Linked DNA regions of Homo sapiens: all the other regions are linked to region 3. The links are contacts of gene promoters, found by promoter capture Hi-C in blood cells and fetal thymus (Javierre and others, 2016). All regions are on one chromosome and are shown on one strand. The core of a region is centred on a gene start or on the middle of the fragment in contact, and the rest is flanking DNA. Distances in the headings are between cores, read along the strand shown.

The links. The method cuts DNA at HindIII sites, captures the fragments that hold promoters and counts their contacts. A CHiCAGO score of 5 or more calls a contact.
Region 1: a contact is called between a fragment that was not itself captured here and the fragment with the promoter of ENOX1 in region 3, in 1 of 17 cell types (M2 macrophages). The highest score is 5.0, in M2 macrophages.
Region 2: a fragment that was not itself captured here is called in contact with the fragment with the promoter of ENOX1 in region 3 in 9 of 17 cell types (M2 macrophages, M1 macrophages, naive CD4 T cells and 6 more); the score reaches 11.0 in M2 macrophages.
Region 4: a contact is called between a fragment that was not itself captured here and the fragment with the promoter of ENOX1 in region 3, in 1 of 17 cell types (M2 macrophages). The highest score is 5.1, in M2 macrophages.
Region 5: a contact is called between the fragment with the promoter of DNAJC15 here and the fragment with the promoter of ENOX1 in region 3, in 10 of 17 cell types (fetal thymus, M2 macrophages, M1 macrophages and 7 more). The highest score is 14.2, in fetal thymus.
Region 6: a fragment that was not itself captured here is called in contact with the fragment with the promoter of ENOX1 in region 3 in 6 of 17 cell types (M1 macrophages, erythroblasts, megakaryocytes and 3 more); the score reaches 9.5 in M1 macrophages.

Annotation. Positions count from the first base shown.
Region 1 is chr13:43,064,471-43,069,118 of GRCh38, forward strand. It overlaps DNAJC15 (DnaJ heat shock protein family (Hsp40) member C15), which reads left to right. Exons shown (of 6, transcript NM_013238.3): 2 at 1,216-1,267; 3 at 4,460-4,533. Among named protein-coding and RNA genes, the nearest start is that of DNAJC15, 43 kb to the left of the region's middle. The HindIII fragment of the contact is 4,148 bases long and covers 771-4,648 here.
Region 2 is chr13:42,965,173-42,970,109 of GRCh38, forward strand. It overlaps EPSTI1 (epithelial stromal interaction 1), which reads right to left. Exons shown (of 11, transcript NM_033255.5): 3 at 3,922-4,005. Among named protein-coding and RNA genes, the nearest start is that of EPSTI1, 25 kb to the right of the region's middle. The HindIII fragment of the contact is 719 bases long and covers 2,906-3,624 here.
Region 3 is chr13:43,785,293-43,789,862 of GRCh38, forward strand. It overlaps ENOX1 (ecto-NOX disulfide-thiol exchanger 1), which reads right to left and starts at 1,680. Exons shown (of 17, transcript NM_001347969.2): 1 at 1,360-1,680. The HindIII fragment of the contact is 7,995 bases long and covers 1-3,936 here.
Region 4 is chr13:43,108,568-43,113,478 of GRCh38, forward strand. DNAJC15 (DnaJ heat shock protein family (Hsp40) member C15) reads left to right here. Exons shown (of 6, transcript NM_013238.3): 6 at 1-4,911. It overlaps LINC00400 (long intergenic non-protein coding RNA 400), which reads left to right and starts at 4,598. Exons shown (of 3, transcript NR_047013.1): 1 at 4,598-4,716. The HindIII fragment of the contact is 2,111 bases long and covers 2,303-4,413 here.
Region 5 is chr13:43,021,044-43,025,477 of GRCh38, forward strand. It overlaps DNAJC15 (DnaJ heat shock protein family (Hsp40) member C15), which reads left to right and starts at 2,543. Exons shown (of 6, transcript NM_013238.3): 1 at 2,543-2,691. The coding sequence starts at 2,584. RefSeq lists enhancers at 2,362-2,421, 2,432-2,481, 2,992-3,041. The HindIII fragment of the contact is 4,162 bases long and covers 1,733-4,434 here.
Region 6 is chr13:43,081,873-43,086,205 of GRCh38, forward strand. It overlaps DNAJC15 (DnaJ heat shock protein family (Hsp40) member C15), which reads left to right. Exons shown (of 6, transcript NM_013238.3): 5 at 3,896-3,966. Among named protein-coding and RNA genes, the nearest start is that of LINC00400, 29 kb to the right of the region's middle. The HindIII fragment of the contact is 2,445 bases long and covers 496-2,940 here.

The sequences.
Region 1 (4,648 bases), core at 1,595-4,094, 720 kb before region 3:
TATGCTAGTGTTTTAAAAGTCTCTGCCGACTCTTCAGGATTTGCCTCTCCCACCATTTATCAGACAAAAATGTTTCTGTGGTTTCACTTCTTAATTTTGTATCCATTAGAATTTGTTTTGGCTCCAAGTGCCTAAAACCCAAAAATATAGTGGCTTAGGAAGATGGAACTTTTATTTTTATCCCATGTATTAATAAATAAAGGCAATTCAGGGATGGGAAGGCAGCTCTGTGATCATCTGGAACCAATGTCTTTTCATCTCATTGTTCTTCCTACTTTATCCAAGAGGGTTGCTCCAGCAGCAATGTATGCATTCCAGCCAGCAGGAAGGAGAAATGGAGAAGGACATCTCCTTACCCCTCTGTAGGACTTCTCAGAAGTTGCATACACTACTCTGGTTGTATCTTACGTGCCAACGCTTAGTTAGCATAGCCATACCTAAATCTAAGGGAGGCTTGGAAAAATATATCTAGCTAAAAACAGGAATTCCTGATCATATTGAAAAAAAAAAAAAAAGAGAATGGATATTGAGGATTACCATTGATCCTTGCCACATAAATCTTTTGTTATTGTGACACTAATAGTTTCCTGAGATGTTTAAGGAGAAAAGCTCAGAATATTGTGGGTATATAGCCAATTTAAAATAAATTATCATCAGAATTAGCTTATATCTGACATTCTGAATTTTGGACCCTTATTTTAAAATTTTTACACTGGTCTAGAAGGTAGACCTTAACTTTTGAATTTTTTATCATTTTTGATAAGTTTGGAAGCTTGACTTCTTTCCTAAACATTGATGTAAGGTTTCATGAAATTTTTAAGTATAGCAAATGCTGTTGAACATTGCAAATGTAAAATATGGAGGAGGAAATATGTGCTTTTTATCTTTATAGAAGATAAATATATTAAACCCCCTATTAAAAATCGTCTATAGAAAAAATTATAGCAATAGGTAGTATAAAAGCTCTGGGTTAGAGTGGATTCAAATATATGGAAATTAAATGAAAATCTAGAATCAGTTCACTGAGAATTAGCTGATACAGTGAGCAGCAGATATAATCCCATAGACACTGCATATTTTTTTAAGTCCTGATCTTCACAGTAGAGCTTAAAGAAAGTGTAGTATTGTAATGTAATTATTCTCATTATTAAAAATGATTTACTTTTAAAACCCAGCATGTTACATCATAAGTAATATTCATTTTTTCTTCCATAGGTAAGAAGTTTGATAGCTGTAGGACTGGGTGTTGCAGCTCTTGCATTTGCAGGTAAGATAAAGAATACATACCAATAAATTGCAGGAGAAATCTTTCCAAATAGCATCTACAGTGATTCATGAGTAGACCCTTAGTATTCTGAGGTTTTGGTTTTCAGACATAATACATTCTCATTCTTTCCACCATTTGTAGTTACTGAACATTTGTCATTGTAGCAAAATCTAGATAAACTTTATAGGGAAGAAAATTAGTGATAAAAAGCCAGAAAAACTAGCTCCAATAATAGTTTATTCCTGGCATTTTTTTTCAGTTTGAAGTATAGTATACTATAAAAAGAAATTTTAATATTATGCAATGTAAGTGGCATGGAGTGCCTTTATTCTCCCATATTTATTTTTTCTTGCAGACAGGTTTATACATTTTAAGCTGTCAGTTCTTTCTCATGAGCATAGTTGTTCCGTGTAGTTTATTGATTTGTCTCTAAACATATTGGTATAATTACCTTGATAAACCCTGGGGAATTTTTTTCACTGCTAAAATTACGTTTTTCGAAAGAATAGTTCTTTTTTTTTTCTTTTTTTTGGAATGGGCAAGACTGTGCCCCTTCCAGAGGCTCTGGGGAGAAGCCCTTTCCTTACCCTTCCTGGCCTACAGAGTTTGCCTTCATCCTTGGCTCATGGACCCTTCCTCCATTTTCAAAGCCAACAGCTTAGCATCTTCCAACCTCTGTCTGACTGTCACTCTCCTCCTTCTCTCTTAAAAAGATTTTGTGATTACACTGGGCCCACCTGGATAATCAAGGATCATCTCCCCATCTCAAGATCCTGAACCTAATCACATCTGCAAAGTCAGTTTTATTACATAAGGGTAACATATTCTCAGGTTCCAAGGATTAGGACATGGACATCTTTGAAGGCCATTATTCAGCACAGCACAATGCTAGTTTTTCTTTTTTTTGAGACGGAGTCTTGCTCTGCCCAGGCTGGAGTGCAGTGGGGCGATCTCTGCTCACTTCAAGCTCCGCCTCCCGGGTTCATGCCATTCTCCTGCCTCAGCCTCCCGAGTAGCTGGGACTACAGGCGCCAGCCACCATGCCCAGCTAATGTTTTTTGTATTTTTAGTATAAAAATACAAAATTTAGCCAGGATGGTTTCGATCGCCTGACCTCGTGATCCACCCACCTCGGCCTCCTAAAGGGCTGGGATTACAGGCGTGAGCCACCGTGCCCGGCCCATTCGAAAGAATAGTTCTGAAGATCTAAAGTAAATTTGCTGAGTCTGTCATTAACTTACAGCAGTTTTAAATTACATAGCTATATCCTAATTAAATGTTAATTTGAGAATATGTCCTTATTGATAAAGATTTACTTTTTTGTTCTAGCATTTGTGTTTGTAAGTTCTATCGGTTTGATCTTGTTAATTGGCTCTTTTAGGCAGAGCTGCATTCCATTTTGGCTATATAGAGTTTAGTAAGATCTGATAGAAAAATGAGAAATAAGAGGGTCTTGTTTTGTATGGTATTTATTTTCTCACAATTATCATTTAAAACACTATTTTAACCTTTTGTCTTGGAAATGATGAAACACTTCAACAATCAGAACTTTAAAATCTAGATCAGTGGTTCAGATTCTCTTGATGTTTTTGTCATCAAGGTCTTATGTCTCAGTTATATAACTTATACTTAATGAATTTCTGAGGTTTTATGAGAAGAATATCATGTCTCAAACAGAATTCTGACAAACTTGCCCCTAAACATAAAGGAATTTTAGTATTAATTAGAGTAGGCATAGTTATGAATTCAAATGTAAGGTTTTGATTTGAAATTAGATAAAGATGTATTTTTTCCAGGGTCGTCTTTGTAAAATGACAAGAATTGGTGTGTGTATTCTTTATAGACCACACCATTCCCAAACTCGTATTACTGACTAGAATATTATATTAAATAACAACAAGATCTCTTCCAGAGCCAAATACAACCAAATAATAGAATTTAGGAGAAAGTACACTTAGATGTGTTAGAACTAGGTCTTCTAGTTAGAGTAAACCTCCAGGTGTCACTTCTTGAAGCATTTAACTGCTTTTTAACTGAGATTAGAAGTCAGTCACTGTGGTTTTGAAGAATTTTGAGGTAATATAAAAGCTACATTTCATACTATTATAAAATCAAATGGAAGATGACATCTATGTGATAAGAGATACAGGCAAGTTAGGGAATCAGCCTCATTTAATTTCACTTTATTTAATGTTCTCCTTTATCTCAAGACCTTTTTATCTTCACATTTTCCCATTTCTGGCATCCTGTCTTTCACTGTAACATGTTTGCACAGAATAACAGTATACATAGGCAGGTAAATTTTTCTAAAACAGTATACATAGGTAGTTGAATTTTTGCAGTAGAACTCTTGATTTGCAAATAGGCTTATGGTTAGAAGTTGAATTAAAGCCTGTAGTGTCATATACTGGTTTTCTAGCAAGACTCTTGGAGAAAGAGATACTAGTAGAAGACACAATCTGATTGGGGTGCAAAAGATAAAGTAGCTAGATAATATTTTACTCTTATTTGATGCCCTCAAAATAATTTAGAACCTGTTTTACTATTGACTCTTAGTTGTTAAAACTCAGGGGAGTTTTGATTATTGGGATTCCCAACTAGGGAAAGAACTAAAAATAAGTTTTCAGAGAGAGTAGCCATCCTCAGTGAGAAAAATTGATAATTAACATCCTTGGTAAGTATTTCATATGTAATTGCTTTTTTACTTTAGAGATAATTGATTAAAACCATTTCTGTGTAGTATAGATCATAAATATAATTTGTTTTCTATATATTTCAAAGTGATTATCATAAAAAGCAATACAATTAACCATTTTAGTATTATAAGTATCTTTTATATGTAATAGGACTTTACAGTTTGTTGTATAAAGAATACTAGGATGTTATTTTTTTTGTGACCTATACCATAATATAAATGTAAGATATTACACATAAACATTGAAAATTTCTAGTTTTATGATCATAAACTAGAACTTGATAAATTTAATGGCTATGATAATGGTATTAACATGAAATTTTGCCCTCCAATAAATTAAAAATTTGAAAAAATTGACCATCTTTCTGGTAAGTTTTGAAATACTTATTGCAATAACATATATAAACTATCAATAAATACTGTTGCAAGCACTTTGAAGGTGTTGATTGATTTTGATTATAGAAAATACATTTGCTTTTATTCCCTTTACTATTTAGGTCGCTACGCATTTCGGATCTGGAAACCTCTAGAACAAGTTATCACAGAAACTGCAAAGAAGATTTCAACTCCTGTAAGTTAAACGTGGCTTTAGTTAGAAGACTCATTTTGATTTTTGTTCATATGACATATTTCAATTAACTTAGAAAATGTCTTGGATTTTCCAATGTTTGTAGAAGTTTGTTTCC
Region 2 (4,937 bases), core at 2,015-4,514, 820 kb before region 3:
GCAACCATTCCAATATTGTAAGGGGTAGAGAAATAGAGGAGGAGTTGAAAATTAGAAGAAATGGAGAGAGCCAGATGTCTAAGCATTTACAAGTTTTGTTCAAAACTCATCTCAAAGTTTAATACATTCTAGAATTTTCTTTTCTACCCCCAAGTCCCTCCCACACACACATACCTGACTAACCCTAGATAATGCATATAACAGGAAGTCAAAATGAGAATCCTGCTCATTTTCTGCTAAGGCTTCAAGACAACAGATGCCGAGCGCTTCAAATTCCAAAGGGAGGTAATGGCCCCTCAAAGCAGGATCTGCAAGGAGGTAACTGAAACCTACCTTGGGGAACCTTAACTAACTTCAGCCTATAAAAGAGGTTGGTTAGGTCAAAGGGAGGCAGAAATCTGAGGAAAGATGTCATTCTGAATTCTATGTCTTCTGTGTTTTGAGGAAGGAGAAATCTTCACACCAGATGAGCAGGAGAAGTTTAATGAAAATCAGCTGGAGTCCCTGTCCCTCTCCCTCTCCCTCTCCCTCTCCCTCTCCCTCTCCCTCTCCCTCTCCCTCGTCTCCCTCTCCCTCGTCTCCCTCTCCCTCTCCCTCCTCTCCCTCTCCCTCTCCCTCTCCCTCTCCCTCTCCCTCGTCTCCCTCTCCCCACGGTCTCCCTCTCATGCGGAGCCGAAGCTGGACTGTACTGCTGCCATCTCGGCTCACTGCAACCTCCCTGCCTGATTCTCCTGCCTCAGTCTGCCGAATGCCTGCAATTGCAGGCACGCGCCGCCACGCCTGACTGGTTTTGGTGGAGACGGGGTTTCGCTGTGTTGGCCGGGCCGGTCTCCAGCCCCTAACCGCGAGTGATCCGCCAACCTCGGCCTCCCGAGGTGCCGGGATTGCAGACGGAGTCTCGTTCACTCAGTGCTCAATGGTGCCCAGGCTGGAGTGCAGTGGCGTGATCTCGGCTCGCTACAACCTACGCCTCCCAGCCGCCTGCCTTGGCCTCCCAAAGTGCCGAGATTGCAGCCTCTGCCCGGCCGCCACCCCGTCTGGGAAGTGAGGAGTGTCTCTGCCTGGCCGCCCATCGTCTGGGATGTGAGGAGCCCCTCTGCCTGGCTGCCCAGTCTGGAAAGTGAGGAGCATCTCCGCCCGGCCGCCATCCCATCTAGGAAGTGAGGAGCGCCTCTTCCCAGCCGCCATCACATTTAGGAAGTGAGGAGCGTCTCTGCCCGGCCGCCCATCGTCTGAAATGTGGGGAGCGCCTCTGCCCCGCCGCCCCATCTGGGATGTGAGGAGCGCCTCTGCCCGGCCGAGACCCCGTCTGGGAGGTGAGGAGCGTCTCTGCCCGGCCGCCCCGTCTGAGAAGTGAGGAGACCCTCTGCCTGGCAACCGCCCCGTCTGAGAAGTGAGGAGCCCCTCCGCCCGGCAGCTGCCCCGTCTGAGAAGTGAGGAGCCTCTCCGCCCGGCAGCCACCCCATCTGGGAAGTAAGGAGCGTCTCCGCCCGGCAGCCACCCCGGCCGGGAGGGAGGTGGGGGGGTCAGCCCCCCGCCCGGCCAGCCGCCCCGTCCGGGAGGTGAGGGGCGCCTCCGCCCGGCCACCACCCCGTCTGGGAGGTGTGCCCAACAGCTCATTGAGAACGGGCCAGGATGACAATGGCGGCTTTGTGGAATAGAAAGGCGGGAAAGGTGGGGAAAAGATTGAGAAATCGGATGGTTGCCGTGTCTGTGTAGAAAGAAGTAGACATGGGAGACTTTTCATTTTGTTCTGCACTAAGAAAAATTCCTCTGCCTTGGGAATCCTGTTGATCTGTGACCTTACCCCCAACCCTGTGCTCCCTGAAACATGTGCTGTGTCCACTCAGGGTTAAATGGATTAAGGGCGGTGCAAGATGTGCTTTGTTAAACAGATGCTTGAAGGCAGCATGCTCGTTAAGAGTCATCACCAATCCCTAATCTCAAGTAATCAGGGACACAAACACTGCGGAAGGCCGCAGGGTCCTCTGCCTAGGAAAACCAGAGACCTTTGTTCACTTGTTTATCTGCTGACCTTCCCTCCACTATTGTCCCATGACCCTGCCAAATCCCCCTCTGTGAGAAACACCCAAGAATTATCAATAAAAAAATAAATTAAAAAAAAAAAAAAAAAAAAAAGAAAATCAGCTGGAGACCTCAACCTGCATTTTTAAGAGTCTGAGGGTCTTATTGGATTCATGCCTAGAACAGTTAGAGCCTAAAGGTATAAGGCTGTTGTCCATTGGCCACTGAGATGAGTCCTCAAGAAGAGGTAGCTACATTACAAATGGCCCACATTCACAGTTTATGAAAAGAAAGAATGCACAAGTATTTCCTGTACTTTTAATGTGATTCTCATGAAAGAGAATGCCAACCTAAAGCCATCTAAAGGGACTTGCCTATGAGGGCCATGTCAAGAACAATGGAACCCTAAAAGGAGTCTACCAAGAGCCAACAGTGAGGCCAAGCCCTGCCGACAGGAGAGGAAATCGTCTGTATCAGGGAAATCCAGGTGGGAGATGGGTAGCAGAGAGTGGGGGATGCTGAAAAACTCGAAGATTCCCAGGAAGAAGAACGAGCAGTCAGTGTAAACCTAGGCTCAAAGAAACAAGGATCACTGCATTACGAACCCCGAACTCTCTTATCTCCCTCCACTTCCCCCTTCAATCCCAGAAAGGTCAGAATCTGGGAACAGAGCCATGAATAGAGAAAAGTCCAGCCACACCCTGTTCTACTTGCTGGATTCCTACCTGAAACAGGCCTGGGTTAGAGCAGGGGAGAAGCTCTCATCTCCATTAGTAACAGAATTTTGATCAGTACCTAAGACTGAACATTAATTACTGAAATGAGACTGTTTTAGGCCTAGAATTAGCTAGGTCACTCTACTGTTTGAAAGAGACCAAAAAGCTTTAATTTCTTACATCATCCAAAAAGCCTGAGAAAGACTGTTCTCACATAGCCAATCTCAGGGGCCAAGCTAGGAAAGATTAAAGCTGTTTTCTGATTGTACCCTTCGAGTCTGGCTCATTTGCACAAAGGAGGCACTTGAGATTAGCCCTTTTCACGAAATACAGTGGGATGATGATAATATTACTATTACTTCCTCCCATTAAATAATTTCCAAATTAGATTATTTTTACCTATGTTCTTGGTGGGGGGGCAGGGTGTGGGGAGGGAACTTCTCTAAAACTATCACAACCGTAAGTGGCCCCTGACACAAGACATGCTTGTATTAACTAAATCTGTGGACACTGTGTGTCCAACCCTTTAAATTTTCGGCTGCTGATAGAAGAGAAAAAGCAAAGAAAAGATGTGAATGATTCCCATTAGGTGGCATCCCTTCTGAATGATTCAAACACCGGCAAAGGCGGCCCAGACAATTCATCACACTGGCAGCACCTGCTCCAGAGGCCCAGAGGTCTCTATCTGTAGAATAAAAACACAGGTGATGTTTCTCTTATACCCACCACCGGGTTTCCAGCTCACTCTCATCTCCCTCTTGGAACTGACTCTCCACTCCTTTTCTTCAGATTAACATTTAACTGCCATGATTAATATGCTTGTGCCAGCATTTACTCCCATCCTGACTAGTGCTATGACAGGGCATATGCAGCGCCCCAGGTAAGCTTTTTCAGAGTCAATCATCTAAGAGGCTCTAAATTATTTGGCAATTAAGCCATCACTGTGTTCCCATAGAACTCTGGCATTACAGGTTTGCTACTTGCAGAAAATCAGAAAAAAAAAAAAATACACACACACACACACACACACACACACACACAATTAAATGCATTCCACCCAAGCAGCACAATGACCAAACAAACTACAATGGACATTCACAGACAGACATATGCAAGCTGCTTACAGGATCCATAGGTGGCCCCGCCCTCCCTCATTCCGGCAGCGGCTGTGCTTGCTTACCTAGCCGTCTGGGCACCAGGTGAACCGGTTTAGCTCTGTTCTGCTCCTTCCACTTCTCCAGGTTGGCCAGCTCCTGCTCCGCAACTAAGCCAGGCGAGAAATATCAAATCGTCAATTATTAGACTTCTAAAAGAAAACCAGTCCCTTCAAAGCATAAGAAACAACTATTAGAAGGCAATTAACTATATGTGAGCATGAGTGAACAAGGCTTCCAGGTTAGAAACACAATATTCAGCCCTGACCCGTACAGGTCATCCTGGGCCCGGCCCTGTGGCACATTCTCACCAAGAGTCAGCACAGAGGGTTCGAATTTGAAAAACCACCTGGGCTCCTACTAAAAGAAGTATAGATTTTCCTACCATTCTGGCATTTTTAAAACTCTATATCAAGTTAATTTTTAAAGTTACCTATAGAAAATGTGTGCAAAACTAGAATATTTTCACGTCAATAAGAACTTTCCACACATAGGTAAACATATCCCCAGAGAATTCTGATGCCCATACTCGCTTTATCTTCAATGCTCCCAAGCTTACTGCGACTCTAGGGAATGAGGGCTCGGTGCTACAGGTGGAGACCCTTGCTCTGGTTTCAGGCACTCCAGACCACTGTGCAGAGTCGGCTTCCTGGGGAGCAGGGCTCATTTCCTAAATGTTCACTCTGCACGACAGCAGGGGGCGCCAGAGAGAAATTAGTTCTGTCACTCCAGCGCCTCCCCTTATCTCCTCATGAGACCTGTTTCAAATGTCCATTACTAGAAAAACAAATTCTGAAACATTTCGAAATCCAGACCACATTGAGACTTAATCTCCTATTAAGTATTTAAATCAAAAGCTTGTAAGATACCAGAACTGCTGGCAGTTCCCATAGTCCCTGCATGGCTGTGATTGTCATATTCTGCACTGACCCGCTGTCCCACCCGGAGCTACATGTCCGGTGGAGACTCTTTAGAGAGCTTTTTCCCTTTTGTGCCTTTCTGTCCATCATTAGTCATGAAGTTAAATTTCCTACCAATCATG
Region 3 (4,570 bases), core at 430-2,929:
GAGCGGGCCCACCAGCTCAGCTTTCCAAGCTCGCTCACCTGCGTCTCTCCTCCAGGAATCAATTTCCTTCCCACTTTCTCCACCCTCTTCAGATCCCTTAAGCACGCTTCATTGCTTTCTCCAAACTACCAGACTCAAATCTGCAGCCCAGTTGGCCAGGAACCTTTCCATACGCACGTATTTCCTGCATTCTCCTGGGTCTGCTTTTAAAAATTGCTACCACCAAACAAATGCAATCTTAACAAAATTGGGATTACAAAGCCAGTTTTTTTCATGTAATGTTACAGCAGTGAAAGATTGAGGGAGAGAAAAGGAGAGAAGCAGGAGTGTATCTGGGTGAAGAAGCGTGGCTCAGTGGCTATACAGTGAGACGCAGAGATTCCACAGAGCTGGGCTTGCCCACCTGTCGACCCCACTTTCCCCATGTGCTCGCCGCGGGATGACAACCACAACACTCCAGAACCACCCCCCTTCCGAAAGAGGGCGGGGTTACGCCTTCAGCCAATCAGGACCCGCGAGCCCCGGGTGTCCAACCTATGGGGTGGCTGTGGCCGTGCAGGGGGAGGACGTGGGGTGGTCTGGGAGGGGCCGCGTCCGTGGGAGGCTCGCACGTGTCGGGTCCGGAGAGGCGGGGAGGCGGCCGGCGTCCAGCGGCCGAGGCGCGGGCTCTGCACCCTGGCAGCGGCCGAGTCCGGCTGCCCCAGTGCCTCCTTTACCTCGCGTTGGGCCAGGCAGGGCGCGCTCCCGCCGACGAAGACCTGTCCAAGGTGTCCGAGCTCCCCGCGAGAGGGGACAGTCACGAATAACAACAGTACCCAGCGCAGACTAGGCGGGGAGGAAAGTTTCCGGCCCGCAGCAGAGCGGAGTCCGCCAAGGCTGGAGGAAAAGGGATGCAGAGCGGGAGGGTGAAAACCTGAAAGAAGAGGGCAGCGGGAACACTGTGTGGGCAGGAACGGGTCCCGGGGGCGACGCCCGCAGGGGGAGACGGGTGCGGGGTGCGCTGTCCAAGGTGCAGGGGAGGTGACTGGCGCGCGGCGGGCGCGGAGCCCGGAGCTGACACTGGCTGGCGGGCGGAGGGGAGAGCGGGGAACAGCTGTCTGGGGCGCTGGGCACCCCCGGGCGCGTAAAAGTGAGGGAGCTTGAGACGGGGCACGGCGGGGAAGGGCGTGGGGGCTGCACCGAAGCCCCCACGCGTCCACGCACCCCTCCTCACCAGCCTCACCTCTAGCTCCACTCCCCTCCCCCCTCGCCCACTCCCCTCTCAGTCTAGATCCAGGTGCCGTGGCGGGGGTGAGACCAGAGGACCCCGGCTCGGAGCCCGGACGCCCCAGGGAGGCTGCGGGCCCCGGAGCTGCTTACCTGGGGCCGCCGTATGGGGAGCGGAGGCAACCCGCTGCGCGGAGTGGGGCGCCGGGCGCGGCGCGGCTCCTCCTAGCCTCGGCGTCCTCCTCCTCCTTTGCTTCTCCCGGACTCTGTCCCGGGCACGGAGCTGGGAGACGCGGCCGGGCTGCAGTCGCCGTTCCCTCTGCTGCCGCCGCCGCTGCAGCAGACAGAGGACGCCCCGTGGCGGCTGGAAGCCTGTGTGAGTAGCGGCGCCCGGGAGAGCGGGGATCTGCTGAGGGGCGCTGGAGACTCCGCGGCTGGAGGCGCGCGGGCGTGCGCACGCGCGCCTGCGAGTGTGAGTGTATGGGTGCGCGCGCGCCCACGGGGTGGGGGAGTCGCGAGGGGAGGGGGAGAGAGGCCGAGAGATGCTCGTAGGGACCGAGGCAAAATTCTACGACCCCGGAAATCCGTAAACGCGGGGAAGGAGGATCGAACGCGTGTCTCGCTTGGAGAAGCTGCCCACGGGGCGGCAGCAGAGGAGGAGGGGAAGTCAGCGAGGCGCGCTAGGGCTCCGGATCCCAGCCCGGCAGAGCCGAGCGGAGCGCGCAGCCACCGATGCAGCAGAGGCGGCGCCCGCAGCCCACGGTCGCGCTGCCCCCTCTCGGGAGGGGCCGAGGCCGCTCGCTCCCGCCACCGCCGCCGCGGTCGGGACTGCTCTACTGGGAGCGGGGGAACCGAGAGAGGGACCGCACGGTTGCTACGGCGACCTTGGAGGGGCCGGGCCCGCTGAAGGGCCAAGAGAAGAACCCGGGCGCACGTGGCCGACTCCAGGCTGGAGCGGGCGTGTTACAGGATTGTGGGCTTGGGGTAGACGGTGGAATTGGGCCGCGTGGCCTGGGCAGATGATGCGGGGTGTGCGGCCCAGAGTGGCTCGGCCGGGGTGCGGTCAGCATTCAGGTTGGTAAGGGTGAGGGGATCCTAACCCCAGGTGACATGTTGCCTTTTTTTCCTCCTTGGAGGCTACTTTTTCTCAAAGTTACCCACTTCCCAGGTAAGAATGCCGGCCTCCTCTTTGTTAGGATTCAACTTAGCTGTGCAGGCATCTAAGCAGTGCCTCCTTAGAGTCAGGCTCGTCCAAGAACCGCTCCCACCACCTCCCCACACACACCCACATCCCCCGATCCTCCATCCCAACTACATTGTAATACTTCAGAAATAAATGTTTAAAGCACATTTACATTCTCTGCCTCTTAACAGATATATTGTCTTAGTAGTATACTTTTCCTTGCTTATTTTAAATTCTGAGTGGGATTTTATTCACACAAGCATTTCTTCAAGGGTCGTAAGGTCTGGGTAATACTTGAAATACCCTTTCTGGCAGGAATCCTCAATGCAGGGATTGTGTTTTGCACACTTTTGCATGCCTTCCAGTGCTTAGCATAGTACTCTGTACTTTGTGAGTTCCCTGTAAATGTTGAATGAATGACATTGTTTTCTAGCTTCACGTAACCTGAAGGCAAAGACTTGGATGCTGGGAAAGTCATTACCACCCCACTAGGCTTGCCTGATTTTAACTTATGCCATTTCCTTGTGTGTGGCTATTTTTCCCCCTGGCGGTCAGAACCCCAATGCAAAGAAAGAAAATAATACTTATCCATTGTGCACCCTTAACAAAGGATGCATGTAGAAGCACTCTGCAGGGACCCCAGTGGGATGCCCTGGGTGTGAGGGGGCCAAAGCTCAGAACCTAACCTCTCAAAATGTGAAAGTCAGTGTTCACCAGCAGTTTATACTGTCCCTTCTAGAGCAGAAGGATGGGGAAAACAGTTTTAAGAGAAATACACTTTTGTTTTTTGTTTTTTGAGACGGAACCTCGCTCTGTCACCCAGGCTGGAGTGCAGTGGCGCGATCTCGGCTCACTGCAACCTCTGCCTCCCGGGTTCAAGCGAATTCTCCTGCCTCAGCCTCCTAGTAGCTAGGATTACAGGCGCCGGCCACCACGCTCGGCTAATTTTTTTTTTTTTTTTTTTTTTTTTTTTTTTTTAGTTTTTAGTTTTTAGTAGAGACACAGTTTCACCATGTTTTCCAGACTGGTCTCCAACTCCTGACCTCAAGTGATCCGCCTGCCTCGGCCTCCCAAAGTGCTGGGATTACAGGCATGAGCCACCGCTCCAGGCCAGAAATACACATTTCTAATAGCTTATCAGGTACGCATTTTTCTCCTGTAAAGAGTAGTGTTCATGGACACTGACCAATACATGCAGGGTCACCCCAGACTGCTAATTCTGCTGTCTGGTGTAGCACCAAGTCCACATCCTTCGACCTCGGTATTTCTACAATCATCGTCTTAGAAGCAGAAGTCTTCAATTTTGCATTTCATGCTAAATTTCAATTCCTTTGAACTCAGGCCCGCCTATGAGCTGCTTCTCTCTCCACTCATGATACCACAGCTGTGAAATATAACTGAAATAAAGTGAAAATTAAAATGGATTTATTTGGGTACCGTGTGTTCTTTAGTGGGGGTCCCTTTAACTGATTTATCTACCTTCACTCAATTGACAATCTTCTTAGAAGACATTTGTTGTGATATTGGAGCTTTTTTATTAGGTTGAAAGCTTACTTAAATTTCTCACTTGAAAGGAAGCTCTAAAACTTGCAAAAGAAGCAGAAAAACTCTGATACCGAAAATGGACCCTTGACAGCCAACCTATAGAATGGGTATGAGTCAGAATTTTCCAAAACAATTTTAAAGCTTCATTTTCCTTAGAAAGTTGCTTTTAGGGTTTTGTTGGGCTCAGAAACTAATACCGGAAAATATGGCACTTTGACATGCTGGACTGAAGAAGCAGCCTCAAAGTCTCTCTGACCCTCTCTCTGCCTCCTGTCTCTCAGTCGTCTGTCTCACCCAAAGCACAGGATGAAATTGTTCTCTGAAGGTCTTTCATCTGCCTAGAAACCAGATCTGCCAAAGAAGAACGCACTTGCCTTCCCTGAGTTTTTATTAATCTAACTCACGTCGTAGGAAGAAAGATTGAAGCCTGTCAACACAACTGGACATACTTTTGTCACACTCCTCTGCGGGCCCAACAGACTTTATCCCAGGCCATTTTATGTTCACCAAGCTCATTGAATTCCACTAAAAATTCTTTACTATCCCCCTTAAAATCATCCACATTTCCCTTTCTATTCTTCCCCTATGAAGAAGGGTATATGAGCATCTGTGTACCCCACTGGGTTATTGGGCAAT
Region 4 (4,911 bases), core at 2,108-4,607, 680 kb before region 3:
TTCTAACATTCTGTAGTTTAGGAGTTCTCAACCTTGGCATTATTGACATGTTAGGCCAAATAATTTTTTTTGTGGGAGGTCTCTTGTGCGTTTTAGATGATTAGCAATAATCCCTGACCTGTTATCTACTAAAGACTAGTCGTTTCTCATCAGTTGTGACAACAAAAATGGTTCCAGATATTGCCAAATGCCCTTTAGAGGACAGTAATCGCCCCCAGTTGAGAACCATTTCAGTAAAACTTTAATTACTATTTTTTCTTTTGGTTTATAAAATAATGATCCTGAATTAAATTGATGGAACCTTGAAGTCGATAAAATATATTTCTTGCTTTAAAGTCCCCATACGTGTCCTACTAATTTTCTCATGCTTTAGTGTTTTCACTTTTCTCCTGTTATCCTTGTACCTAAGAATGCCATCCCAATCCCCAGATGTCCACCTGCCCAAAGTCTAGGCATAGCTGAAGGCCAAGCTAAAATGTATCCCTCTTTTTCTGGTACATGCAGCAAAAGTAATATGAATTATCAGCTTTCTGAGAGCAGGCATTGTATCTGTCTTGTTTGGTGTTACATTGGCACCCAATAAATATTTGTTGAGTGAATGAATAAATTCCCATAGCACTTTATTCTTCACATGGTACATAACTATAGGGGCTATAGCTTGGTACCTTGTGAAGCAACTCTTGGTGTAACATACCTTATTTCTCATACTAAAATGCAAGAACCTTTAGAGCAAGGATCTTGCCATTCATCTTTGTAACCTCTTTACTCTGGAGCACTTGCATTTAGCAGGCATCATAAAGTTTTACGTACCAAGAAAATGTTGCTGTTTTCTGAATACTATGCATCAAAAAATGTTACCACTAATTTTTAAAGCTCTGCTAAGGAATATTGGGGCACCCTCAGATGCACCTTTTAATTGATGTCATATTTTCCTAATCCATACTTTATTCATGAGAATTTGAGTCACCCCAGCATTAGCTTGGAATTTCCTTATTTCCCATTTGCTTTGCAGGTGCCTTGGAGTCAGATCTGGTTTTGAATACTATCTTCCTGTTATGTGATCTTGGGCAGTTACTTAATTTTCTAGTCAATAACCCGTATCTATAAAATAGAGAAAATAATCCTACACACCGGGGCCTGTTGTGGGGCGGGGAGAGGGGGGAGGGATCGCATTTGGAGATATACTAATGTAAATGACAAGTTAATTGGTGCAGCACACCAACATGGCTCATGTCTACATATGTAACAAACCTGCACGTTGTGCACATGTGCCCTAGAACTTAAAGTATAATAAAAAGAAATTTTAAAAAATCCTGTCAAATAAGGTTATAGTAGAGAATAAGGATGTGTAAAGCATTTAGTCACGTAAATGCTTAAAAAAATGTAATTTTTACTTCTTTCACTGCCTCATTTAATTAGTTTTATCTTTAATAATACCTTGGATTCAGGGTAAAGTTTCAGTTATGTCCCAGTAATCATTTATTTTACCCTCGAATCTGCAATTTGGATAGAACATGGTGGGGACAGCTCGTCTCTATTCCTTGCAGCATTAACAGGCTGGAGGCACCACTTCTCTGGCCAGCAAGTTGGGCCTGGTTGTTGGCTGAGAGCCTCAGTTCCTTTCTGCACAGGTTCCTCTTTACATAGGCTTCTCAACAGGGCTACTAGAGCATCGTCACCATAGCAGCTGTCTTATAACAGAGAGTGGTCGGTCTGAGAGACAAAAAATGGAAGCTGCCAAATTGTTCTGGGTCTGGAAACTGTCAGGGCATCACTTGTGCCATATTCAGTTGGCCTAAGAATTACAGAGCCTGCCTCGATTCAAAGGGAGAGGATAGAGAGGACTGAAGGAATCAGTGCTCATCTTTAATATGCAGCAGGACAGGTTTGGGATTTTTTTTCCCCCTTGAGTCTGTGAAGGCATTACTTAAGAACAAAGTCAGGCATGTATAATTGAACTACAGTTACTTGAAATATAAGCCCAGAAAGTTTCAGATAATAAATACAACTATTTTTCTGCTGTTACCCTTGTACCTAAAGATGCCATCCTAATCCCCAGATCTCCACAACTATACCTACATAGTAGAAGGTTAAAATGTATCCCTCTTTTTCTGGTGCATCCAGCAAAAGTAATATCATGAATTATGAGCTCTCTGAGAGCAAGGATCATATCAGTCTTGTTTATTGTTGCAGTGAACAAGTACAGTTGCAGATATTCAGGAGTAATTATCTAAATGGCAGTAGGCTTATAAAACTGAATTTTCACCAGCCACACCCTCCCCCCAACTCCTTATCTGTAAAAAGCTTATTTGAGTGGTTACCTGTCTTCAGTAAAGATTGCGCTTGCATATTTGCTGTCATTGCATATTCTGCTTAATTAAGCTCTGTTGATATTGCAGTTTCTGTGCATACTTACATCTTAGATGCAATCTGAGGGCCTAGGAAGGCCTTTTAAAAATAAAACAATTCCGATTGCAGAGAAAGTGTAAGTCAAGGACAGTTAATTCAAGGGGAACATAGAAAGCTATTTAGATTTTAGTTGATGGTGCCAGTCTTCAGCGTAAAGTCAAAAGTGGAGGGAAGTTTAGTAAGGAAAAAATGTTGGGCTTGGAATACATTGTTTAGTCTTCAAAGCACTTTACTTTTTATGAAATATATTTTAGACATTCAGCAAATATTGAATACTTACTATATCAGGCAGTAAAGATATAAATTCATTCTTAAAATGTGCAACATGTTCAAACTGAAAAAAATACATTCTTAAACAGGAAACTTTTTCCTTCATACTTTTTAATTAACAAGACATATAAGAGTTGCATTAATGGGCGTGCTTATGATTGATCACCCAGCAGCATCATTAGAAATAATATATTTTATTCATGTGCAGAAATCTTTTGGTTGTCCTGGGGAACCTTGAACACAGAAAAGAGCTTTTATTGATAAGGTAATTGAACACACTTGACAATTAGCTTAATATGGTTTAATACCATTTGTGGGAGAAGATGAATCAGCCAGGCTCTTTACGTCAAGAATATGAAGTTTCTCTTGAGTCAACCAACTTAAGATGAGCTACGGAGACTGCAGTGAAAAGTTAAATATCCAAGTACACCAGCCAATTTCACACAGTGGAACCATGCTGTCCTCGGGCACCCTGCACCTCGCCCAACAGTCATCAACTAGATGGAGGCTCCTGGCTGCAAGGAGGATTTGATGGGAATGAGTAAATGTGTCAGCATAGTCCGTCCCTTCTAATGGAAAAGCAACCCAAAGAGCAAATCCTATTAATGGCTGGATCAGTATCATCTACTTGTCAAAAACATTCCATGAATTATGAGTCAAAATTTTATTTATGGTGGCATTACACACATTAAGAGATGAGGACTTCTGTTAGCATAATTTATTAGCTGGAAAAGTTGAGAAGGTTCTCTGGACTCATTTTTATAGGTGGAACCTAAGTGATCTGGATAATTGCCCACCAGCAAAATTGCTGGGCATGGTGGACAAAGAAAATGTTCCTTCTAATGATTTTTTATGAGCTGAGTAGCTATTGTTCCCAGCTGAGTGCTCTTTTCCTCTTTTTATTGTTGCTGAGCAAAAGAATTTATAAAAAGCTCTTTCTTTTGTATTAAAAACCCTGCTCAATTGAAATGCAAGTTCATTAAGTAATCTTCATTTCTCTTCCTGCCATAATAACCCTTTCCCTCTCTGTTCGATTCAACAGTATCTAGCAGCACTGCTCCAAATTTTAAGTCTGAACAGACTATATTACATAGATGTAGAGAAATACTCAATCTTCAGCATTAAGAGGGAGCTTAATTTCACACGGGTGGAATATGATCACTCAGGCTAGATGTTGGCCATAAATTTCAAATTAGTATCTCAACTTAGCAGGGGGGATCAACAGTGGCAAACTTCAATTATGACAGGATAAAAATCACATAGAGATATTGGTTCAATATGGACATCTAAACTATAATGCTAAAAGCCAATAATTAGAATAAGTTCATTTTAAGAAAAGCATTAATAATATTAGCTAACGTTTAGTACCTGTGCCAAACATTCTACCTATGTTACCTTGATTTTCATAGCCAGCCTAAGAGGTACTATTATGTATCCCCATTTTACAGGTTAAGAAACAGGCTCAGAGGAGTTTAGGATCTTTTCCAAGATTACATAGCCAGTAAGTGGTGGCACTAGGAACCAAATTCAGACTCTGAATCGCATGCTGTTTATATTATATTGCACTCATTCTAAATATGTGGGAATCAGAATGAAGGGGCTTGTATGACTTTTGGCTCATTTTTTGATGCATGTGACCTGGGATTATAAATGTGAAATTAGGTTTACGAAAGGATCCAGTGTCATTGTGCATCATGGGCAAGGAGTACCTAATCTCTTTAATTCTTCCCTGGAAGCTTACGATGTCCATCCAAGTGCACATAGCAAAAGTTCTGTTGTAAAGTTTAGCAGAGTGACTTTCTTTGACTCAGAGTGATGACGGAGGAAGCTTTGATAAGATTTTATCTGAAATGTTCATGGACAAGAGCTTTCAAGGAGAACATCCAGAGCAAGGTTCTGAAGACAGCTCATGAAGGTGAAGCAGCAGACCTGGCACAAGAAATGAAGAGAGAGCTCAGTGTATTAAAGATGAAAACAAGAAAACCGAATATATTGAAAGGAGCAGAGAGGCAATGAAAACAAGACAACTGAAATGAGGTAACTTGCAGCAATTGAAAGGGAATTTCAGTACTTTTATAGAATTCTTAAAAATTGTTTCCTGCTGTTTATTTTCAATTTTGAACAGGGTTATTTGTCCATGCCATACTTTTTTTGCCAAATTCCAAAATTGTGTATAGTTCTATAGTTGTCTGGTGGAGTCAATGGAACTTTAGTTACCAGTCTAAGAATGTG
Region 5 (4,434 bases), core at 1,293-3,792, 760 kb before region 3:
CCTTTTACAGGTAATTTGGAGAGGTTAATGGATATGTTCAGTTATACAAGCCCAGAAAATAATGGAGGTACACTAGAACTCAGATGTCTTCCTTATTCCTGTAACCACCCAATGGGTTTACTTTGCTGGCTGTCTAGACAGAGCCAAATTTATAAAGACGGGGTAATTGCAATAGAGAAAGAGTAATTCATGCAGAGCTGACTGTGCAGGAGACTGGAGTTTCATTATTACTCAAATCAGTCTCCCAGAGCATTCAGGGATCAGAATTTTTTATTTATTTATTTATTATTATTATTTTTTTGAGACGGAGTCTCACTCTGTCCTCAGGCTGGAGTGCAGTGGCGCGATCTCTGCTCACTGCAACCTCTGCCTCCCAGGTTCAAGCGATTCTCCTGCCTCAGCCTCCCGAGTAGCTGGGACTACAGGCACCCACCACGCCCAGCTAATTTTTGTATTTTTAGTAGAGATGGGATTTCACCATGTTGGCCAGGATGGTCTCACTCTCTTGACCTCATGATGCACCCACCTTCGGCCTCCCAAAGTGCTGGGATTACAGGCATGAGCCACCGCGCCCAGCTGGGGATCAGAATTTTTAAGGACAACTCGGTGAGTAGGGGGAAGCCAGTGAGCTGGGAGTGCTGATTGGTCAGGTCAAAGATGAAATCACAGGGAGTCCAAGTTGTCTTGCGTTATCAGTTCCTGGGTGGGGGCCACGAGATCAGATGAGCCAGTTTATCGATCTGGGTGATGCCAGCTGATTCATCAAGTGCGGGGTCTGCAAAATATCTCAAGCACTGGTGGTAGTTTTTACAATAGTGATGTTAGCTCCAGCAGCAATTTGGGGAGGGTCAGAATCTTGTAGCCTCCAGCTGCATGACTCCTAAGTCATAATTTCTGATCTTGTGGCTAATTTGTTAGTCCTACAAAGGCAGTCTAGTCCCCAGGCAAGAAGGAGGTTTGTTTTGGGAAAGGGCTTTTATCATCTTTGTTTCAAACTATAAACTATGAATTACATTCCTCCCAAAGTTAGTTTGGCCTACGGCCAGGAATGTACAAGACAGCTTGGAGGTTAGAAGCAAGATGGTGTTGATTAGGTCAGATCTCTTTCTCAGTTGTAATTTTGCAATGGCGGTTTAATTCCCAGTCCAGTTCTCTTTATACTGCTATGCAATGCATGTGCTCATGTTCTGGTATGTACTATTATTCTGTGTCAGTGTTATCTTCCCTACAAGATTGTAAATTTCTAGGACCTAACTTCTTAGACATGCTAATAATATTAACTAAGTGAACAAATTAATAGACCCTCAAAACTTTAAATTCAGGAATAGAAAAAAAATAAAGCTTTTTCTTCCTGTCAGCTGATTTTGCAAAGGGTATAAGGAGCCAAAGAGCTGCCACGTTGGTACAGAAGTTGGAAAACACCATACGCTTCAACTGCTGGTTAATTTTTGCTCTAAAAACTTGATGGAGGCCAGGCGCGGTGACTCACGCCTGTAATCTCAGCACTTTGGGAGGCTGAAGCGGGCGGATCACCTGAGGTCAGGAGTTTGAGACCAGCCTGGCCAACATGGTGAAACCTCGTCTCTACTAAAAATACACAAATTAGCCAGGTGTGGTGGCACGTGCCTTTAATCCCAGGTACTCGGGAGGCAGAGGGTGCAGTGAGCCAGAGATTGCGCCACTGCACTCAGCCTGGGCAACAGAGCGAGACTCCATCTCAAAAAAAAAAAAAAGCTTAATAATAAAATGGGCTTTTATATATACAAATCAGCACAAACTCATTTGAGGGAGAGTAAGATTTACCTACTTGCTCACAACTTTTTTTCCCCTGCCTCAGGCTCCTGAGTAGCTGGGATTACAGGGACGCACCACCACACCCAGCTAATCTTTGTATTTTTAGTAGAGACGAGGTTTCACCATGTCGGCCAAGCTGGTGTGATCCACCCGCCTCGGTCTCCCAAAGTGCTGGGATTACAGCGTGAGCCACCGCACCCGGCCACAACTTTCTTCTGTGTAATTTCACCTTAAATACAGCCATTTACTTGGGGGTGGAGTAAGCAAATTGCCTCTTTAATTTCTCTCCCGGGGTGGTAGAACTGTGGCATTAAACAGAAGTGCGAACAGAAGTTGAGAGTGGGAAGAAAGGCTGCCCGGAAGGGGGTCAGGAAAGCTCAGGCAAGCCCACCCTCAGGCACTACAGCTAGACTCCGAGCTTACTGGGCAGTCATCTGATTCGACCAACATCAGTTCGCAGGGCTTAAGCCCAGTCCCTTACGGCGGCCTGGGGAGGGACCAGGCCCAAGTATATAAAGCTCCCTGAGGGTCCGCGTTGGCTTTGCGCCTGTGAGTGTGATTCAAGAACGTCCCAGTGCCCTTGGCTCCTTTCGGAGTGTGACCCCGTGCTTGCACGGGACACGTTACCCAGCTCGGGTGAGAAGGGTATCTTCCGGGAACCTCGCCTTTAATAGCACAACGAGCGCAGAGTCCACTGGATCTGCGAGAAGAAACCGCGCTAACTAGTTTGTCCCTACGGCCGCCTCGTAGTCACTGCCGCGGCGCCTTGAGTCTCCGGGCCGCCTTGCCATGGCTGCCCGTGGTGTCATCGCTCCAGTTGGCGAGAGTTTGCGCTACGCTGAGTACTTGCAGCCCTCGGCCAAACGGCCAGACGCCGACGTCGACCAGCAGAGACTGGTGAGTCCTGCCAGCGGCCCCCACCCCTCTCTGGCTCCCTTGTAGTTTCTGCTTCAGCCCCCTCTACCGCCTCACCCTTGAACCTTTGTACTCCCCCGCATTCGCTCACGGTCTGTGCCCTAGCGCTCACTTGTTCAGTGGAGAGACCGCTTTGTGCTGGGCTTTGACGCCTGGGCGTGGAAGACGGAGCAGTTCTGAGGATCTGTCTCCTCAAGGAGCTTCCAGTCTTGTCTGGGACACAAACCAGAAAACAGGCAATTGCAAATACAGTAAAATAAGTGCTGTATGTGGATTTTCCTATCTCATAGGAGGCCCTAAAAACGTCTTGCAGGGGACGTGGTGGGATCAGGGACGCTTCTTGGAGAAAGCTGTAGTTAAAAATTAAGATCTGAATGAATAAAAACAGTCCATTCAGCAAGGAGAAGGGGAAAAAGTGTTTCGGGTACCAGGACTACTGTCTCCAAAGTCTCCGGCACAGAAACAGGGCCCAGTTGGAAACTCCAAGTGGTGTATTCAGGATGAACTGTAGAGCTGGAAAAAGGAAGGGTCTAACAGAAAACTGTCCAACAGAAGCATATTGTGAGCCACATACGTATTTTTACGTTTTTTTTTTTTTTTTTTTTTTTTGAGACGGAGTCTCGCTCTGTCGCCCAGGCTGGAGTGCAGTGGCGCGATCTCGGCTCACTGCAAGCTCCGCCTCCCGGTTTCAGGCCATTCTCCTGCCTCAGCCTCCCAAGTAGCTGGGACTACAGGCGCCTGCCACCACTCCCGGCTAATTTTTTGTATTTTTAGTAGAGACGGGGGTTTCACCGTGTTAGCCAGGATGGTCTCGATCTGCTTACCTCGTGATCCGCCCGCCTCGGCCTCCCAAAGTGCTGGGATTACAGGCGTGAGCCACCGCGTCCGGCATATTTTTAAGTTTTTTGTAGCCATATTAAACAACTGAAGAGAAACAGGTGGGTTTGATTTTAACCATGTATTTTCTTTAACCTGATATATGCACAGTTGCATGGTAATTTTCAACATTCAATATGAAATATTGCCCAAGTGGTGGTTTAGGCTTGTAATCCCAGCGCTTTAGGAAGCCCAGGCAGGAGGATCACTTGAGGCCATGAGTTTGGAGGACAGCCTGGGCAACACAGGAGACCCCATCTCTGCTAAAAAAAAAAAAAAAAAATTAGCTGGGTGTGGTGGTGTGAGCCTGTAGTCCTAGCTGCTTGGGAGGCTGGGTCGGGAGAATCACTTGAGCCCAGGAGTTGAGGTTATAGTGAGCTATGATTTCGCCACTGCACTCCAGCCTGAGAGACAGAGCTAGACCCTGTCTCCAACAAAGAAAAAAAAATGAGGCAGTAGAGATTTAGAAAGTTTTAAGTAACTGGTCCAGGATCATCCCTGGTAAGTGGCAGATCTACGATTCCAAATGCTACACTTTTTCCCTTATGACTTGCTGACTCCTTAGAAATAAGGATTTCTGGATATAGTATTCAGTGTATGATACAGCTGAACAAGATCAGGCAGAAGTAATCCTTTTGTGGAGAGTCGTAAAAATCCGAGTATCAGGCTTTCAAGGTAGTTGGGAGCTGTGGTAATTGGAAGATAGAACTAATATTGGTGACTTTTACATGTGTAGGTATTTTTACTTGGAAGAGGAGAGAGTTTACAGAATCCAGAGTACCACATAGGAAGCATCTTTAGTAGTCCAGGTACTTGAAGGCTAAAGTGTAGGCCAGTGATTCTCAAACT
Region 6 (4,333 bases), core at 468-2,967, 700 kb before region 3:
AGTTCCACATAGCTGGGGAGGCCTCAATAATGGCAGAAGGCAAAGGAGGAGCAAAGGCACATCTTACATAGTGGCAGCAGGCAAGAGAGCATGTGTAGGGGAATTGCCCTTTATAAAACCATCAGATCTCATGAGACTTAGTCACTATCATGAGAACAGCACAGGAAAACCCGCCCCCATCATTCAGTTACCTCCCACCGGTTCCCCTCCCATGACATGAGGGGATTATGGGAGCTATAATTCAAGATAAGATTTGGGTGGAGACAGAGCCAAACCATATCACTATATGTTACTCAAAAGCTCAGTAGTAGAAAAAAAAAAAGATGAAACCAAAACTGCTCCATTTGCCAGAAGGTCCAAGAACACCACTCCACATACCCCCACTGCCAGCCAGATGCATTCTAGGGAGGTGTTTGAAATCTCTGGTCTAGGTACCATCATATTTAAAGTTATACTGGAGGTATATCATCATAGCTACATTTAGTTTTTATACTAAGCTTAAAAACTAGGCTTCTCTCATGTTGTTTAATCTTTACAGCAACAAACATGTATTAATATTAAAATGTATTAAGGTCCAAGAGACTTAATATAATAATAACTAAAAGGAAATAAACACTGCCAGCAAAGCAGAATAGGTCTCATTTCCAGAGCTCACCATTAGGAGTCTGATCATTATTATCTTAAAGGCAGAGTGTTTTGAATGCCATACTTGTGCATATGAACTTTCCTTCCTTGTGTTTACTTTAGTTCAGTGGTTGGTGGACCTCAGTATGCATAATGCGTTGTGGAGTTTTATGTACAAAACTATGTGGAACTGATTTTCAGAGCATTGTAATTAATTATCAAGGAAATTTTGACGGAGTAATTTTCAGATTTTGTATTATGTGCTCAACTAAAACTTAATATCTAGAATAAAATGGACCTTGCCATATATCTTCTAAAAAAATACAATGGTTCAGCAGAACATTCACCTATATATATATATATACACACATATATGTGCGTATGCGTATATGTGTGTATATATATGTGTGTGTGTGTATATATATATGAAATTTGGATTTTACTGAACTTATCTCATTATTTAGAGGGCCACATGGTGATGAAATTTATGAAATAGGTTTTTAAAGCTCCCCCTTTTTTACTTTAAAATTATTTGCATAGTAATCCTTTATAATATTAGTATTTACTAATATGGAGTATTTGTTATTTTAAGGAGTTTACCTTTTTACAGTCATTTTTGGAGGGTGATGTAAAATGCATTAAGCACTTGTACGATATATAATCCTAATTTCTTTTTTTTGTTTTTTTTTGAGACGGAGTCTTGCTCTGTCACCCAGGCTGGAGTGCAGTGGCGCTATCTTGGCTCACTGCAAGCTCCGCCTCCTGGGTTCATGCCATTTTCCTGCCTCAGCCTCCCGAGTAGCTGGGACCACAGGCGCCCGCCACCACGCCTGGCTAATTTTTTGTAGTTTTAGTAGAGACAGGGTTTCACCATGTTAGCCAGGATGGTCTCGATCTCCTGACCTTGTGATCTGCCCGCCTCAGCCTCCCAAAGTGCTGGGATTACAGGCGTGAGCTACTGCCCCCGGCCTACAATCCTAATTTCTATTTTAAGATACAAATCATAGTTTCAGCCCTAAAGTTATTTAGAATCTACCTAACACAACATGCCAAATACATACAGAACAGCTAGAAAACATAAGTAATAAAGGCAAGATGTGCCACAGAGCACCTGTGTAGCAAAAAAAGGAGTTGATAAATGTAGATTAGCCACAGAAATCGAAATCATTGAGCTGTAATTTTTCAGTGTAATTTTTTTTGTTTCTTAATAGGCAGTTAAACAGTATAGTGTTCATACCTCTGGTATGATGTTTAACAGTTATTTTCTCAAAATTCAGTAGTCTTTTAACCAGACAATGTTTAATTGTTTATCTGGGAGGTACCTACAAGCCAAAAAGTAAGTTTAGAATGCTGCTTCAAAGACATAGGTAAACAGCCAAGAGGAATACTCTTAAGTCCTTATAGGAAAATATTTAATTCATTTTACTCATGGAAGACTATTTTATGTGCCTACTCAGCAATTAATAGTGCATTTTAATGTGCTTGGTGATCTATCACTTACCCACAGATCAGAGGTAGCAAGTAACTAGCAAGGAACTGCCAAAGACTAGAACAATAGCAGAATCAAGGATTGACAGCTGATAGCATAGGGGAGGCACTGTTCAAAATAGAACTTAAATGAATAACATTCTAGGTCCATTTAGTAGGAGGACAAGCAAACATCTGCAGACCTTGAGAGTTTAATTGGTAATAATGACAATGCTGTGAGCCATCCAAGAAATGTTAAGTTAGGTTATTTACACTTTATTTTCAAAATGCAGGAGATATCTAATACAGTCTCATAAGCATCCTTTACTTTCATGTGTGCTAGGTTATGTTAATCTTTTTACTTATATTATCTAATTTTTCTTTAAAATAAACCTGGGGGTAGGTTTTATTACGTGTATGCTACGTATGAGAAAATTGCAACTGAGTTTAAGCAAGACATACTTTCACAGCTAATAAGTAGTGGAATCAAGAATTTGAACCTGTTTCTGACTAACTGTAAAAGCACATGCTTTTAGCTATTATGTTGTGGTTCATCCATGCAAATTAAATTATTTTGAGCTTTACAATAATTACACTGTGCTTTAAGTCAACTATTATTATCCCCATTTGAGACTCAGAAAAGTTAAGTAGCTTAAACAAGATAGTATAGCTATTAAGTAGCAGTAGTAGGATTTTGTTGTTGTTAGTGTTAATTTTTTTCCCTTGCCTAGAAAATGTACTAATAAGCAACATTTCCAATACTGGATACATTGGGTTTTACCCAAATAATTTTAGGATTATTTAATTATCTACTTTAATTTTTGTTTACAGCATAGGCTTTAACAGCCAAGCTTTTCCCATGGGTTTTTTTCACAAAGCTAAATAACTATGAGACATAAAGAGTTTTGAGATCCTCTGTAAAGGTAAAAGATAACTATAATGAAGCACTTGCTACATTCCAGGTACTGTTCTAACATTTCGTAGGCATTAACTCATTTAATCCTTACAGTTGCTCTAGCCCTGTTTTACAGTGAGGAAACTGAAGCACCAAGAGGATAAAAATTTGATCAAGCTTACACAATCTTAAGTGGCAATACTGGCATTAAAATCCAGCAGTGTGCCAGGCGTGGAGGCTTACACCTGTAATCCTAGCATTTTGGGAGGCCAAGGTGGGTGGATCACGAGGTCAGGAGTTCGAGACCAGCCTGGACAACATGATGAAACCCTGTCTCTACTAAAATACAAAAATTAGCCGGGTGTGGTGGCGCGCGTCTGTAATCCCAGCTGCTTGGGAGGCTGAGGCAGGAGAATCACTTGAACCTGGGAGGTGGAGGTTGCAGTGAGCTGAGATCATGCCACTGCACTCCAACCTGGGCAACAGAGCAAGACTCCTCCTTCTTGGGGGGTGGGGGGGGAAAGTCCAGCAGTATGCCTCTGGAATCCAAATACTTGTCTGCTACACCGTATATACCGCCTTCCCCCCAAATAACTTAGAAGCATAAGTTTTCAAACTTACAGTATTGTCTGCAGAAGCTGACTCCCCTAACCTATATGTTGTTTTGTTTTTTAAATTGATTGAGAATAAGGATTGGCATTACAAAGGACTGAAGAAAAACACATGTAACATTGAATCAATGATTTATTTTGATGGTTAGTGGAATTAAGTGGAAAGCTGTAGTTTCATATTTGTCCACAAGATGGTGAAATTCTCATTAGGTATAATTTTTTGAAACCCATATAAACCCTTAATTTATAATCTGCATTTGATGCTATTTATTATAAGCACTGTAATTTCTTTTTACAGCCCATCTGCTGGCAAGGCTAAGATTAGAACAGCTCATAGGAGAGTCATGATTTTGAATCACCCAGATAAAGGTAGGTAGAATTCCTATTTTTCATAATATGTATATCAAAATATGCTGTGAATTCCTTTCAGATTAAAGTCATATATGATATATAGTTGAGATGGAAGTTTGTGCGCCACATGTATTGTGATTTTTTTCTCATAAATGAGCATTTAGGTTGGAGTTCAGTGATTCACACAAGTAGTGGATTTATATTATCTGCTTTCAAGAACTTAGTTGCTGGTTTTTATATATGACTTCCTGAACCATCTGATGCGCCTACCATTTTTATCAAGAAAAATCGAAAACACGAGTTATGGACTCTTTGGTTGTATAAACTGATTTGGGCATCACGAATTGTATTTATGTAACCTTCAATGTAAAAGCACAAGAGTTAG